Linked DNA regions of Homo sapiens: all the other regions are linked to region 2. The links are contacts of gene promoters, found by promoter capture Hi-C in blood cells and fetal thymus (Javierre and others, 2016). All regions are on one chromosome and are shown on one strand. Each heading gives the region's core, a stretch centred on a gene start or on the middle of the fragment in contact. The rest is flanking DNA. Distances are from core to core; before and after follow the strand shown. Region 1 has its middle 11 kb from the start of PPIA. Region 2 holds the start of OGDH (oxoglutarate dehydrogenase). Region 3 overlaps ZMIZ2 (zinc finger MIZ-type containing 2).

Region 1 (4,848 bases), core at 2,036-4,535, 200 kb after region 2:
ACACTGTGAGTTTGCTGTATATATCCACGCCTTACACAGTGAATAAGAAGATACTCAGGGCCGGGCACAGTGGCTCAGACCTGTAATCCCAGCACTTTGGGAGGCTGAGGCGGGTGGATCACCTGAGTCCAGGAATTCGAGACCAGCCTGACCAACATGGTGAAACTCCGTCTCTACTAAAAATACAAAAATTAGCCAGGCATGGTGGCATGCGCCTGTAATCCCAGCTACTTAGGAGGCTTGAGGCAGGAGAATCGCTTGAACCTGGGAGGTGGAAGTTGCAGTGAGCCGAAATTGGCCCCATTGCACTCCAGCCCGGATGACAGAGACTCCGTCTCAAACAAAAAAAAAGATACTTGCCCCAGCGTGGTGGCTCACGCCTGTAATCCTAACGCTTTGGAAAGCTGAGGCAGGCAGATCACCTGAGATCAGGAGTTTGAGACCACCCTGGACAACATGGTGAAACCCCGTCTCTACTAAAAATACAAAAATTAGCTGGGCGTGGTGGCACGCCCCTGTAATCCCAGCTACTTGGGAGGCAGAGGCACCAGAATCACTTGAACCCGGGAGGCAGAGGTTGCAGTGAGCGGAGATTGTGCCACTGCACTCCAGACTTGGGTGACAGAGCAAGACTCCAGCTCAAAAAAAAAAACCAAAAAACTAAAAACTCTGCTTCTCAGAGTTGTGGGGATTAGATATGAAGTACTTAGAAGAGTGGTTAGCACATGGTACATGCATGAACAGTTCTGTTAGTGTGTAAACACCCAGCAGGGATTTGTCTAGCTTTTCACCAGTGTATCCCAGTACCTAGGCTAAAGCTTGGTTCAGAGAAGGCTCAGAAGAAATATCACAGTAACTGTGTGATAGACCCCTTCTGATCCCTTTACAAATATTCTAGGCTGGGCATGGTGGCTCACGCCCGTAATCCCAGCACCCAGGAGGCCAATGCAGGCAGATCGCTTGAACCCAGGTGTTCAAGACCAGCCTGTGCAACATGGTGAAACTCTGTCTATATTAAAAACAGAAAAATTACCCAGGCGGCCGGGCATGGTGGCTCATGCCTGTAATCCCAGAACTTTGGGAGGCCAAGGCGGGTGAATCACGAGGTCAGGAGTGCGAGACCAGCCTTGCCAACATGATGAAACCCAATTTATAGAGGTGGGGATAAGGGACCATCTTTAAGAGTTGCCTACCACAAGTCTATAAAATACAGTTTAAAGACCAGAAATAAAAAGAACCCCAGCATATCTACTAGTATCCCAGAAATGCCCTTTGCAAGCCCTCTTCAGTTGCACGCTCTTTCCTCTTCAGAGGGAACCATGATTCCAATTTTTTTTTTTTTTTTTGAGATGAAGTTTTGCTCTTGTTGCCCAGGCTGGAGTGCAATGATGCAATCTCGGCTCACCGCAACCCTCCGCCTCCCAGGTTCAAGCGATTCTCCTGCCTCAGCCTCCCGAGTAGTTGGGATTACAGGCATGTGCCACCATGCCCGGCTAATTTTGTATTTTTAGTAGAGACTGGGTTTCTCCATGTTGGTCAGGCTGGTCTCGAACTCCCTACCTCAGGTGATCCTCCTGCCTCGGCCTCCAAAAGTGCTGGGATTACAGGCGTGCTCAGCCCATGATTCCAATTTTTGTGTTCATCAATCTCTAGCACCTGTGTCCCTAAAAACATATTGAGAAAAAGTGAGAAGCAAGCACAAACCTAATTGTGCAAAGAAAGGTCGAAATTGCCACTATTATGAGGCAGGCTCCCAGGAGAAGGCAAGTTGAGCAGGCTGGGTTAGAGTGTGGCCTCAGGGTCTTTGAGAACACAAGAACTATTTCTGGGAAAGTCAGCCAATGCCTTTCTCCACCTCAGAAAATCTGTAAAATCTATAATATCTGGTTCACAGTCAGATGTTCCCCCTTGTTCTTATAATGTGTTTTTATGTTTATTGCTTTTTAAAATTCTTTTTCAGTCCAGGTACGGTGGCTCATGCCTGTAATCTCAGCACTTTGGGAGGCCGAGGTGGGCAGATCACTTGAGGTCAGGAGTTCGAGACCAACCTGGCCAACATGGTGAAATTCCATCTCTACTCAAAATACAAAATTAGCCAGGCATGGTGGTGCATGTCTGTAATCCCAGCTACTCAGGAGGCCGAGGCAGGAAAATCGCTTGAACCTGGGAGATGAAGGCTGCAGTGAGCCAAGATCGTACCATTGCACCCCAGCCTGGGCAACAGAGCGAGACTCTGTCTCAAAATAAATAAATAAATAAAATTCTATTTCAGGGTTAATAGGTGCAGCAAACCACCATGGCACACATATACCTATGTAACAAACCCGCATGTTCTACACATGTATTCCATATTTTTATTATTTTTTTTTTGAGATAGAGTTTCGCTCTTGTTACCCAGGCTGGAGTGCAATGGCACAATCTCAGCTCATTGCAACCTCCACCTCCTAGGTTCAAGTGATTCTCCTGCCACAGCCTGCCAAGTAGCTGGGAGGCACCACCATGCCCAGCTAATTTTTGTATTTTTAGTAGAGATGGGGTTTCACTATGTTGATCAGGCTGACCTCGAACTCCTGACCTCAGGTGATCTGCCCACCTCGGCCTCCCAAAGTGCTGGGATTACAGGTGTGAGCCACCATGCCTGGCCTGTTTTTTTTTTTTTTTTTTTTTTTTTTGAAGAAATAAAAAAAAATTCTATTTCAATCCTGCTCTTTCTATGAGGATGTATTTTTAAAATCATTCTTATTAAGGTATAATTTACATACAATTAGAATGTCTTTTATAACTGTTCCTCCTCTCTCCACCATTCCCAGGATCTAATTTAGTTTTACACATTACATTTGACTGTTAGGTGTCTTTGGTTTCTTTTACTCCAGAGCAGTCTTTCCACCTTAAAAAACAAAACAAAACCAAAACCTGTAATTTCTGCTTACTAGCTTTTAAAAATTTATTGAGATTATAATTTACATACCATGAAATTACCTTTTTTGTGTGTGTGTGAGATGGAGTCTGTCTTTGTCACTCAGGCTGGAGTGCAGTGGCCTTGATCTTGGCTCACTGCAACCACCCCCTCCTGGATTCAAGTGATTCTCCCACCTCAGCCTCCCAAGTAGCTGGGATTACAGACGCCCACCTAATTTTTGCATTTTTAGTAGAGACGGGGTTTCACTATGTTGGCCAAGCTGGCCTCAAACTCATGACATCAGGTGATCCACCCATCTTGGCCTCCCAAAGTGCTGGGATTACAGGAGTGAGCCACTGCACCTGGCCAAAATTACCCTTTTTAAGAGCACAGTTCAATAATTTTCAGTTAGTTTTAGAGCATTCCATCACCCCAGTACAAGGCCTTGTTTCCATATGTGGTCAATCTTGCTTCAACTGCAGTCCCCTCACCACCTGGCAACTGCAAACATGCCTTCTGTCTCTATAGATTTGTTGTTTCTGGACTTTTTTTTTTTTTTTTTTTTAAGACAGGGTCTTGCTCTGTTACCCAGGCTAAAGTGCAATGGCACGAACATCATTCACTAACACCTTGACCTCCTGGGCTCAAGTGATCCTCCTGCCTCAGCCTCCCAAGTAGCTGGGACCACAGCTATGTACCACCACGTCTGGGTAATTTTTAAGTTTTTTGTAGAGAAGAGGTCTCATCACGTTGCCCAGGCTGGTCTCGATCTCTGGGCTCAAGCAGTCCTCCCACGTCTGTCTCTCAAAGTGCTGGGATTACAGGTGTGAGCCACTGGGCCTGGCTGGACTTTTACAGTGAATCATACACTGTGTGGTCTTTGCTCCTTCCCACTTTGTTTGTTTGTTTGTTTAGAGATGGAGTCTTGCTCTGTCACTCAACCTGGAGTGCAGTGGTGCAATATAACTCACTGAAGCCTCAAACTCCTGAACTCAGTGCAGGACTGGACTCCTGGACTTTATTTTTTTTTACTCCATGTTTTTCTTGTTTATTTGAATCAATGGTTCTGTATGAATGCAATTTTAGGAAATATAAATATTCATCTTAGGGGACTGGCTAAATCTCAGTCTCTTGAGTAGCTGGGATTACAGGTGCATGGCGACATTGTTTCCCTTAAGTGAAAATGATTTTTTTTTTTTTTTTGAGACGGAGTCTTGCTCTGTCACCCAGGCTGGAGTGCGGTGGCGCGATCTCGGCTCACTGCAAGCTCCGCCTCCCAGGTTCACGCCATTCTCCTGCCTCAGCCTCCCGAGTAGCTGGGACTACAGGCGCCCGCTACCAAGCCCGGCTAATTTTCTGTATTTTCAGTAGAGACGGGGTTTCACCTTGTTAGCCAGGATGGTCTCGATCTCCTGACCTCGTGATCCGCCCGCCTCGGCCTCCCAAAGTGCTGAGATTACAGGCGTGAGCCACCGCGCCCGGCCTCTTTTTTTTTTTTTTTTTTTAAGACAGAGTCTCACTCTGTCACCCAGGCTGGAGTGCAATGGGCGATCTTCACTCACTGCAACCTCCGCCTCCCAGGTTCAAGTAATTCTCCTTCCGCAGCCTCCCAAGTAGCTGGGATTAGAGGCTGATGCCACCACGCCCAGCTAATTTTTGTATTTTTAGTAGAGAGGGGGTTTCACGATGTTGTCCAGGTCGGTCTCGAACTCTTGAGTTCAAGTGATCCTCCAAACTCGGCCTCCCAAAGTGCTGGGATTACAGGCGTGAGCCACTGCGCCCAGCCGATGTTGACTCTTTTAAAAGTTCAGGACAGGCTGGGCGCAGTGGCTCACGCCTGTAATCCCAGCACTTTGGGAGGCTGAGGCAGGTGGATCACAAGGTCAGGAGATCGAGACCAACCTGGCCAACATGGTGAAACACTGTCTCTACTAAAATACAAAAAATTA
Region 2 (4,880 bases), core at 912-3,411:
CCTGTAATCCCAGCACTTTGGGAGGTCGAGGTGGGTGGATCACTTGAGGTCAAGAGTTCAAGACCAGCCTGGCCAACATGGTGAAACCCCATCGCTACTAAAAATACAAAATAAGCTGGGCGTAGTGGCGGGCGCTTATAATCCCAGCTACTTGAGAGGCTGAGGCAGGAGAATTGCTTGAATCTACAAGGCAGAGGTTGCAGTGAGCCGAGATGACACCACTGCACTCCAGCCTGGGCAACAAGAACGAAACACCATCTCAAAAATAAAAAAAGAAAGAAAGAAAAAGAAAAAAATATTAGCCAGGCATGGTGGAGCGTGCCAGTAGTCCCAGCTACTTGGGAGGCTGAGGCATCAGAATCACTTGAACCTGGGTGGCAGAGATTGCAGTGAGCTGAGATGGCACCACTGCCCTCCAGCCTGAAACCGAGGGAGATCCTGTCTCAAAAAAAAAAAAAAGAAATGAAGTTCTGACCCATGCTACAACACAGATAAACCTTGACAACCTCATGCTCAATGAAATAAGGTGGACACAAAAGGACATATACATTATGATTTCACCCACATAAAGTAATTGAGTAATCAAATGTATAGAGACCGTATAATAGAGGTTACCAAAGGAGAGAAGGACAGGAGGAGAAGGGGAAATAGGAAGTTATTGCTTAATGGTTACAGAGTTGCTGTTTCAGGTGATGAAAAAGTTTTGGAAATTGAGTGGTGACGGTTGCATAATATTGTGAATGTAATTAATGCCACTGAGTTATACACCTAAAAATGGTTAAAATGGCATTAAAAAAAAAAAGACAGTATCTTGCTCTCTGGCCCAGGCTGGAGTGCAGTGGTACAATCATAGCTCACTGCAGCCTCAATCTCTCAGGCTCAAGAGATCCTCCTGCCTCAGCCTCCCAATTAGCTGAGACTACAGGTGAGTGCCACTACACCTGGCTAATTTTCTTGATTTTTTAGTAGAAATGAGATCTTGCTCTGTTCCCCAGGCTGATCTGGAACTCCTGAGCTCAAGCGATCCTCCCGCCTCCACCTCCCGAAGTGCTGGGATTACAAGCGTGAGCCACTGCACCCAGCTGCAAATGTTTAGTACATACATTTTTACCGTAATTTATTTAAAAAAAAAAAAGGAAAAAAGAATACAGAAGTTTGTTCCTTGGTCTCTTCACCTCTTCCAGTCTCTAGATCCTTGTCACATACATTACCCTAACTTTGTTCTATAATAAGCACTTATACGCCCCCTTTTTTTGTTTGTTTTTTGAGACGGATTTTCGCTCTTGTTGCCCAGGCTGGAGTGCAATGGCACGATCTCGGCACACCGCAACCTCCGTCTCCCGGGTTCTAGCGACTCTCCTGCCTCAGCCTCCCGAGTAGCTGGGATCGCCACCACGCCCAGCTAATTTTTGTATTTTTAGTAGAGACGGGGTTTCCCCATGTTGGTCAAGCTGGTCTCGAACTCCTGACCTCAAGTGATCCGCCCGCTTCGGCCTCCCAAAGTACTGGGATTACAGGCGTGAGCCACCGCGCCCGGCCTTTCCCCAAATTTTAATACTTTAAAATAGGGAACATCTTACAATCAACAGGTTGTGACAGGTTAATTAGCCACGTTTTATCTTTGATAGGTAGCTCTAAAGTCAAGAAAACCCAGGCAAGATCCCGGGCAAGATCCCAGCACTGCCAACTGTCATTTGTAGACCGGGGATAGGAACACCTGTCTCACAGATTGTTACACAATAGCGCCGGTGAAGCGCTTGTCACAAAGCCTGACCCAGGACAATCTCAAAAACGGAGATTCTGTTATTCAAATTGTTTATTTTTGTGCGCTAAGTTTCACATCAACCCAACTATCTCTTGATAGGTTCCTACCAGGCGCTAGAGATATCTTACTTTCAGAAATTATTTATGATAGCAGAAGCCGCTGGAAGTCCATAGACAACCTCATCTCTCTAGCGGAGCAAACAGCTGGGCTCCAGCTGGCCCTGGCTTCTGCAACTGCGCAGTCGGCGCTGTGACGCCCGGCGCGGCTCTGTGACGTCACGAATCGGTCCTCTGTAAGAGGGGAGGGCATTCTTCTCCAGGGGAGGGCTACGTGTTGACGCCATACGCCGGGGCGGGGCCGAGAGTTTGGAGCCCCGGAGTGGGGTGTCGGCGCCTCATTCGGGTGGAGCTGAGCCGGAGACAGGTAACCGTGCGCTGTCGCCGCGCCCGTCCCAGTGCCGGGTGTCGCGGCGCTTGGCGGCCCGGGGTTGGAGATCGCGGTAAAGGGGGAGGCCGCCGCGCCCTTGGTGCTGCGGGCGCCGCGGTGACAGGGGAGTGGAGCTGGATGGAGTGGGGCTCACGGAGGGTGGTAGGAGGGACGGGACCTGATGGATGGCCGTGGCAGCCAATGGAGCCGCGGGGCCTGCCCGGCGGGCGGAGATTGGCGGGTACGGGCGGGCTCCGAGGTCGCGCGGGGCGCGGAGCGACGCGCCATTGGCGGTGGGCGAGCGGGGGGCGGGCGCGGCGGCGGATGTGAGGGAGAGGGCGGTGCGTCCGCAGGGGTGACCCCCAAGGTCGCCGCGGGCGTCACGTGGTTAGGCCGCTCTCCGACGGCGTCCTTCCCGACCGGGACGCACTCTCCTTCCCGCCTGTGAGGACCGCGTCGCTTTGTCCGAAAGACAGTGTGGCCTGCTCGAGTTGCGTCGGAGCATCTGGCTTTGGGGTGGCCCTGGGTGGGACTGCCTGTTTGGATTACCGCGCAGACCTTGGCGCCGCCCCCACACCTGCTGCCAGAAGTTGGGTCGAACAGATTGACCGAGATGAAGCTTATTTCTCGTAGAAACATCTTTCAAGCACCATTTTCCCTCGAAAATATATCAGACATTGGATATGAGTTGTAATCTACTGAGATTTAATAGAAAACTTGCCGCGCCCTCGCCCTGACCTGGGTGCGTCCCACCTGCCATCCCCATCCCTTTGCCCAGAACATAGGACTTCGTGTTAGGGTTTCCTTGTGCCTTGTCTTGCAGTCCGTACTTTGAGGCTGATTTCCAGGTACACTGCTCTGAACAGCTGGGTTTAGGATGGGTGGCATGGGATAAAGCCTTTTTTTGTAAGGCAGCACTAGTTGCAACAGTCAAACTGTACTTTGCCGTGTAGACCTAGGAGAGTATGTAACACTATTGTAGTTTTGTAAATTAGCTGAGGACTGGATCTTGGGAAGTTGAATAAAGATCACTGTATGCTCATTTTTTGTTGTTGTTGTCTTGTTTGAGATGGAGTCTCTGTCGCCCAGGCTGGAGTGCTGTGGCGCGATCTCGGCTCACTGCAACCTCTGCCTTCCTGGGTTCAAGTGATTCTCCTGCCTCAGCCTCCCAAGTAGCTGATATTACAGGCACGCGCCATCACGCCCGGCTAATTTTTGTATTTTTAGTAGAGACGGGTTTTCACCACCTTGGCCAGGCTATTCTCGAACTCCTGACCTCAGGTGATCCGCCCGCCTCGGCCCCCAAAGTGCTGGGATTACAGGCGTGAGCCACTGCGCCCGGCCCCTCATTATTTTTTTTAAGCGCACTTTTCACATTTCAGTTACTTTTTCCCTTTAAATAACATCTTTATTGAGATAAAATTCACATACCATACGATTCACCCATTTGACGTGCACAATTTCGGCCAGTCGTGGTGGCTCACGTTTGTAATCCCCACACTTTGGGAGTGTGAAAGGAAGATCCCTTGAGCTCAGTTCAAGGAGACCAGCCTGAGCAACCAAAGTGATACCCGGCGTCTACAAAAAATAAAATTATCCGGATATGGTGGCATATACCACATATACTTGTAGTCGCAACTACTCAGGAGGCTGAGGCGGGAGGATGGCATGAGCCAGGGAGGTCCAAGCTGCAGTGAGCCATTATTGCCCCACTGCACTCTAGCCTGGGTGACACAGTGAGATCCTGTCTCAAAAAAAAAGGCCGGGCGCAGTGGCTCACGCCTGTAATCCTAGCACTTTGGGAGGCCGAGGTGGGTGGATCCCCTGAGGTTGGGAGTTTGAGACCAGCCTGGCCAACATGGTGAAACCCTGTCTCTACTAAAAATACAAAAGTTAGCAGGGCATGGTGGCGTGGGCCTGTAGTCTCAGCTACAGGCTGAGCTCCTCCAGCCTCAGCAGGAGGCTGAGGCAGGAGAATCGCTTGAACGCAGGAGGCAGAGGTTGCAGCGAGTCGAGATGGCGCCACGGCACTACAGCCTGAGCGACAGAGCAAGACTCCATCTCAAAAAAAAAAGGAAAGAAAAAACTACAGTATCATCTACTTTTTAGATTTTTAGGTAATTTTTGAGATCATTGTACAAATTATTGAGAAATTCATTTTGAAAACAGTAAAATTTTAAGAAATTGTACATAAAAATTTATTCTATGCAGTCATAATAAATAGTACAGAGAGATCCTGTGTTCCTTTCCCACTTCTCTAACATTGTGCAAAACTATAGTAAATATCACAGCCAGATATTGACATTAATAAAATTCAAGATACAGAATATTCCCGTCATCACAAGGATCCCTTCCATTGCTTTTTTATAGCCACACCCACATTCCTCCCATTCCCAGTCCTTCAACTCCTGGTAACCACTAATCTGTTCTTCATTTCCCTAATTTTGGCATGTCAAGAATGCCAAATAAAAGGATTCATAGAGCCTTTTGGGATTGGTTTTTTCCAGTCAGCTTAATTCCCTGGAGAATCATCCAGGTTGTTGCGTGTTATGGGTAGTTCATTCCTTGGCCAGGCGCAGTGGCTTACGCCTGTAATCCTAGCAACTTTGGGAGGCTGAGGCAGGCAGATCGCTTGAGCCCCAGGAGTTCGAGTCTGAGGAACATAGTGAGACCTCGTCTCTACAAAAAA
Region 3 (4,223 bases), core at 358-2,857, 160 kb after region 2:
CAATGGGTGGGGGACAGTGAGCTTCGGCCTGGCCGAGGTGGGTGGGTGGGCTCTCAGATTCAGCTCTGTGTAAAGATTCTCTAGCGGGCTGCGCTCCCAAGTTCCCCTTCTCTGTGAAAGTGAAGAATTAGTACAGCTGTGTTTTTTAAAGCCACCTCTCTGTCTCCACCCCATGGGCCCACACCCAGGTGGGGGAGGAGGAAGCCACTGCATCTGTTGGCTCAGGGCCCCAGCCTGTGCGAGCAGGGCGCCTGGGCTGTTGTGTCTCCTGTCTGTGCCGATCTCTATTAAAGGACTCCCTCTTGGTGGGCCTGGCCGAGTCCCTCCTTTGTGCTCCCAGGGACTATTTTCTCCTCGTAAGCCAGCGACCTGCCTAAAGCTTGGGCTGTGCCTGCAAAGCTTGTGCAGGACCTGGGGGCCAGGTCGACCTTCAAGTGGCTTTTGGGGCCCCAGGTTGAGCTCTGGATGTTTCAAGCCAAGGCTCGGCTATTCCCGCCCCATAGTAAATTTCCTTTTCCCTGGAATTTTCCAAGTTGGCTTCAGCTGAAGAGCTGTTTTGTGAAGCATCCCAGGCTTGCCCAGGAGAGACATTTGCCACTATGTCACCTTATCTGGGCTTGCCCTGGGGCACTGAGACAGTTGTTTGGCAGCCCCAGCCCAGCCAGGGGCTCATCCTTCTCAGCTCTTGTCCCTGGGAGGCCTCTGCTTGTCACTTCCCAGAGATTGCAGAGGTGTGTCCTGCCTACCATCTGCCTGTCCAGCTTGGTGGGGGTCCGGGTCACCATTTCCTCCAGTCCTGGGCCCCATCCTTGAGGGCCTTCCCAGCCAGCCAGCAGGAGAGGCAAGAACTGGGGGAACACAGGAACCTAGGGGAGGAGGGGAGCGCTGGGCATCCTCAGGCTGGCGGCCAAGGCCTGCCCCTGGAGGCACTAGAGGAGGGCATCTGTCTGTGGGAGCCCAGAGGCTGCAGGGAGGAGGAGGAGGGAGGTATCTGGTGTGAGCGTTGCCCCTGCGACATTTGGGACCACACAGGTGGGCTTCCTTATTCCCTGACAAAGCCTCTGTTTCCAGCTCTTCCGCCCTCTCTGGATGAGGGAACAGAAGTGGAGGAAACAAAAGAAGCAGCAGCACGCACAGTCCTGTCGCTGGGTGCGGAGACAGCCTGGCAAAGTCCCACTCAGCCATGGCCTGATGCAGGCCCCAGGCCCTCCTTTCTTGGGTGTCAAATGACTGTGTCCTGGACATCTGATGCACCACCTGCCCTGCCTGTTGCAAACGTGATGCTCCCGGATGGAGTGGAGAAACTAGGAGACTGGGACAAGCAAAAGGCTGCAAACAACCCAGAAGCCCATCCTCAGAAGACTGGAGAAATGATTGAGGAATGCATGGGCACCGTGGCCCTGTGCTCCATCACAAACACCTCTCAGAAACAACGTGGGATGAAAAAGCAAGACAGTTCATACAGTATGATGCCATTTTTATAAAGCTCAAAACCAAATATGTGTGGAATTCATACCCAGGTGCTAAAGTCATCAGGGAGGGCAGGGAGTCAGTACAACACAGTGCTCACCCGTGGGGAGGGGACGGAGCTGTGCTTAGGGAAGAGCAGAGATGCTGGAGGTTTTGAACCTCAGGGTCAGTGGTGGCTTCGTGGGTTTCACTTTGTCGTACTTTCTGTTTCACACATTTTCTTGTGAATGTGCCAAGTATTACATAAAAACCAAAAGGCTGACCAGACTTAACAGTGCTCCACCCAATAGCAGCAGAACACACGTTTCTAAGTGCACAGGGAACGTTCTCCAGGACAGACCACACGTTAGTGCACAAAGCAAGTCTCAGTAAATTAGAGATCGGAATCCTGCAAACCACCTTCTCCAATCACAATGGAATAAAACCAGAAATCCATACCAGAAGGAAAATGAAAATTCACACATACATAGAAATTGAACACACTTTTTAACAGCCAAAGGGTCAAAGGAGAAATCACGAGAAAAATTAGGAAATAGAGATGGATGAAAACAACATACCAGAACTTAAGGAATGCGGCAAAAACTGCTCTGAGGGAAATTTATAGCTGCAAATGCCAACATTTAAAAAGATGCGACATCTTGGCTGGGTGTGGTGGCTCACGCCTGTAATCGCGGCACTTTGGGAGGCCGAGGCAGGCAGATCACCTGAGGTCAGAAGTTCGAGACCAACCTGGCCAAAGTGGTGAAACCCTGTCTCTACTAAAAACACAAAAATTAGCCAGGCGTGGTGGCTCACACCTGTAATCCCAGCTATTCACGAGGCTGAGGCAGGAAAATCACTTGAACCCAGGAGGCAGAGGTTGCAGTGAGCTGAGATCATGCCATTGCACTCCAGCTTGGGTGACAGAGTGAGACTCTGTCTCAAAACAACAACAAAAAAATTCCTAGAAAGATACAAATGACCAAAATTGTCCCAGGAAAAATAGAAAATCTGAACAGGGCCAGGTGCAGTGGCTCACACCTGTGATCCCAGCACTTGGGGAGAACTAGTTAGGAGGATGGCCTGAGGCCAGGAGTTCGAGACCAGCCTGGGCAACAGAGACCCTGCCTCGACAAAATCTTTAGAAATCAACCAGGTGTCATGGCACGTGCCTGTAGCCCCAGCTACTTGGGAGGCTGAAGCAGGAGGATAGCTAGAGCCCAGGAGTTCAAAGCTGCAACGACCTATGACAGCACCACTGCACTCCAGCCAGGAATGAGGCAGAGACAGAGACCTGACCTCAAAAAAAGAAGAAAAAGGAAAAAATCTGAACCAACCTAAAACACATAGGTAGAACCAGTCATCAAAAGCTTCCCAACAAAAGAAAAGCCCAGGACCAGATGGTGAATTCTACCAAATGCTAAAGAATGGACATAAATCCCCAAATTCTCCCAAACATTGTGGAGGAGAAAACACTTCCTAATTCCCCGTATTCATGTGAGGGGCCAGCTTCCCTCCCATTCTGCCCCAGCTTCCTCCAGTGGCCTTCCCCAGCAGGCAGTGGCCCCCACTTCTGACCCCTGTAACTCTACCCACTGTGGGTTTCCTCCTTGCCACCCTTCCAGCCTTCCAGGCTTTGGGGGCCATTGAGACAGCCCATCCTGCCTGCCCTGAGTGGGAGGGCAAGACATGACTGGCTCAGGATGGCCTGTCACCCAAGTTGCCTCAAAGAAGCCAGGGACATCAGTGCAGTCGGATGCACAGTGCAGTAGGTTTTGGTAAGTGCACACGCGTGTGTACCTGCCCTTCCAAACCTCACAGGAGAGACCAACCCACACCCCACCCCAGGTCATCACTGTTCTGGCCCCTGTCACCAGAGATTAATTTTGCCCTTTCTGAAACTTTATGTCAGTGAATATTAGAGTCTGTGTCTTGTTGTTAACTGATCCTTAAAGCGTCTGTGTTTATTTTCTTTTTTTTTTTTTTTAAGACGGAGTCTTGCTCTGTCGCCCAGGCTGGAGTGCAGTGGCATGATCTCAGCTCACTGCAACTTCCGCCTCCCGGGTTCAAGTGATTCTCCTGCTCAGCCTCCTGAGCAGCTGGGATTACAGGTGGCGCGCCATCACGCCTGGCTAATTCTTGTAATTTTAGTAGAGATGGGGTTTCACCATGTTGGTTAGGCTGGTCTCGAACTCCTGACCTTGTGATCTGCCTGCCTCGGCCTCCCAAAGTGCTGGGATTATAGGCTTGAGCCACTGTGCCTTTTTATTTTCATTTAACTGTATATTGTTCTTGTTCATTCTCTCAGTTACCACTTAGAAGGGAGGATTAATGGGTACCCTTCCCCAGCATCCTATACCCCAGCTCTTCTCTGACCAAGTCTTGAACCCTGTCATGGTACATTAGCTAGGACTCAATAGGTTGCAAGTGACGGTGACCAATTCAAACCAGTTAAGGAAGGAAGGGGCTCAAAATAGCAGTCCTGAAAGGGCCCTGGGGCAGCTGGACATGGGTAGGCATCCTTCCTTGGCCTCTGTGTGCAAGCTTCACCCTCAACCAGCTGCTTCTGTGAACTTGAGATCCAAGCTTCGGAGCCTCACTTCTCATTGATTCACCCTAGAAAAGAGGTGATGATCACTCTCCTTCTGGTTCCAAGTTTAAAATCCCAGGGATGGGATCTGGTTGACTCAACCAGGTAGGGACCCACCCACACAGCTAGAGTGGGGTCAGGAGCACTGCCCGAAAGAAGGGAAGCAGTTATCACAAGAGGGAGT

What was found. The method cuts DNA at HindIII sites, captures the fragments that hold promoters and counts their contacts. A CHiCAGO score of 5 or more calls a contact.
Region 1: a fragment that was not itself captured here is called in contact with the fragment with the promoter of OGDH in region 2 in 4 of 17 cell types (naive CD8 T cells, total B cells, activated CD4 T cells and 1 more); the score reaches 7.0 in naive CD8 T cells.
Region 3: a fragment that was not itself captured here is called in contact with the fragment with the promoter of OGDH in region 2 in 8 of 17 cell types (total B cells, erythroblasts, endothelial precursors and 5 more); the score reaches 10.0 in total B cells.

Annotation. Positions count from the first base shown.
Region 1 is chr7:44,805,389-44,810,236 of GRCh38, forward strand. No RefSeq gene overlaps it. Among named protein-coding and RNA genes, the nearest start is that of PPIA, 11 kb to the left of the region's middle. The HindIII fragment of the contact is 4,939 bases long and covers 817-4,848 here.
Region 2 is chr7:44,604,466-44,609,345 of GRCh38, forward strand. OGDH (oxoglutarate dehydrogenase) reads left to right here and starts at 2,162. Exons shown (of 23, transcript NM_002541.4): 1 at 2,162-2,188. RefSeq lists enhancers at 1,722-2,321, 2,573-3,136, 2,812-3,151 and a silencer at 2,362-2,591. The HindIII fragment of the contact is 8,395 bases long and covers 1-2,808 here.
Region 3 is chr7:44,768,384-44,772,606 of GRCh38, forward strand. It overlaps ZMIZ2 (zinc finger MIZ-type containing 2), which reads left to right. Exons shown (of 19, transcript NM_031449.4): 19 at 1-1,498. Among named protein-coding and RNA genes, the nearest start is that of ZMIZ2, 22 kb to the left of the region's middle. RefSeq lists enhancers at 1-127, 1-101. The HindIII fragment of the contact is 2,420 bases long and covers 398-2,817 here.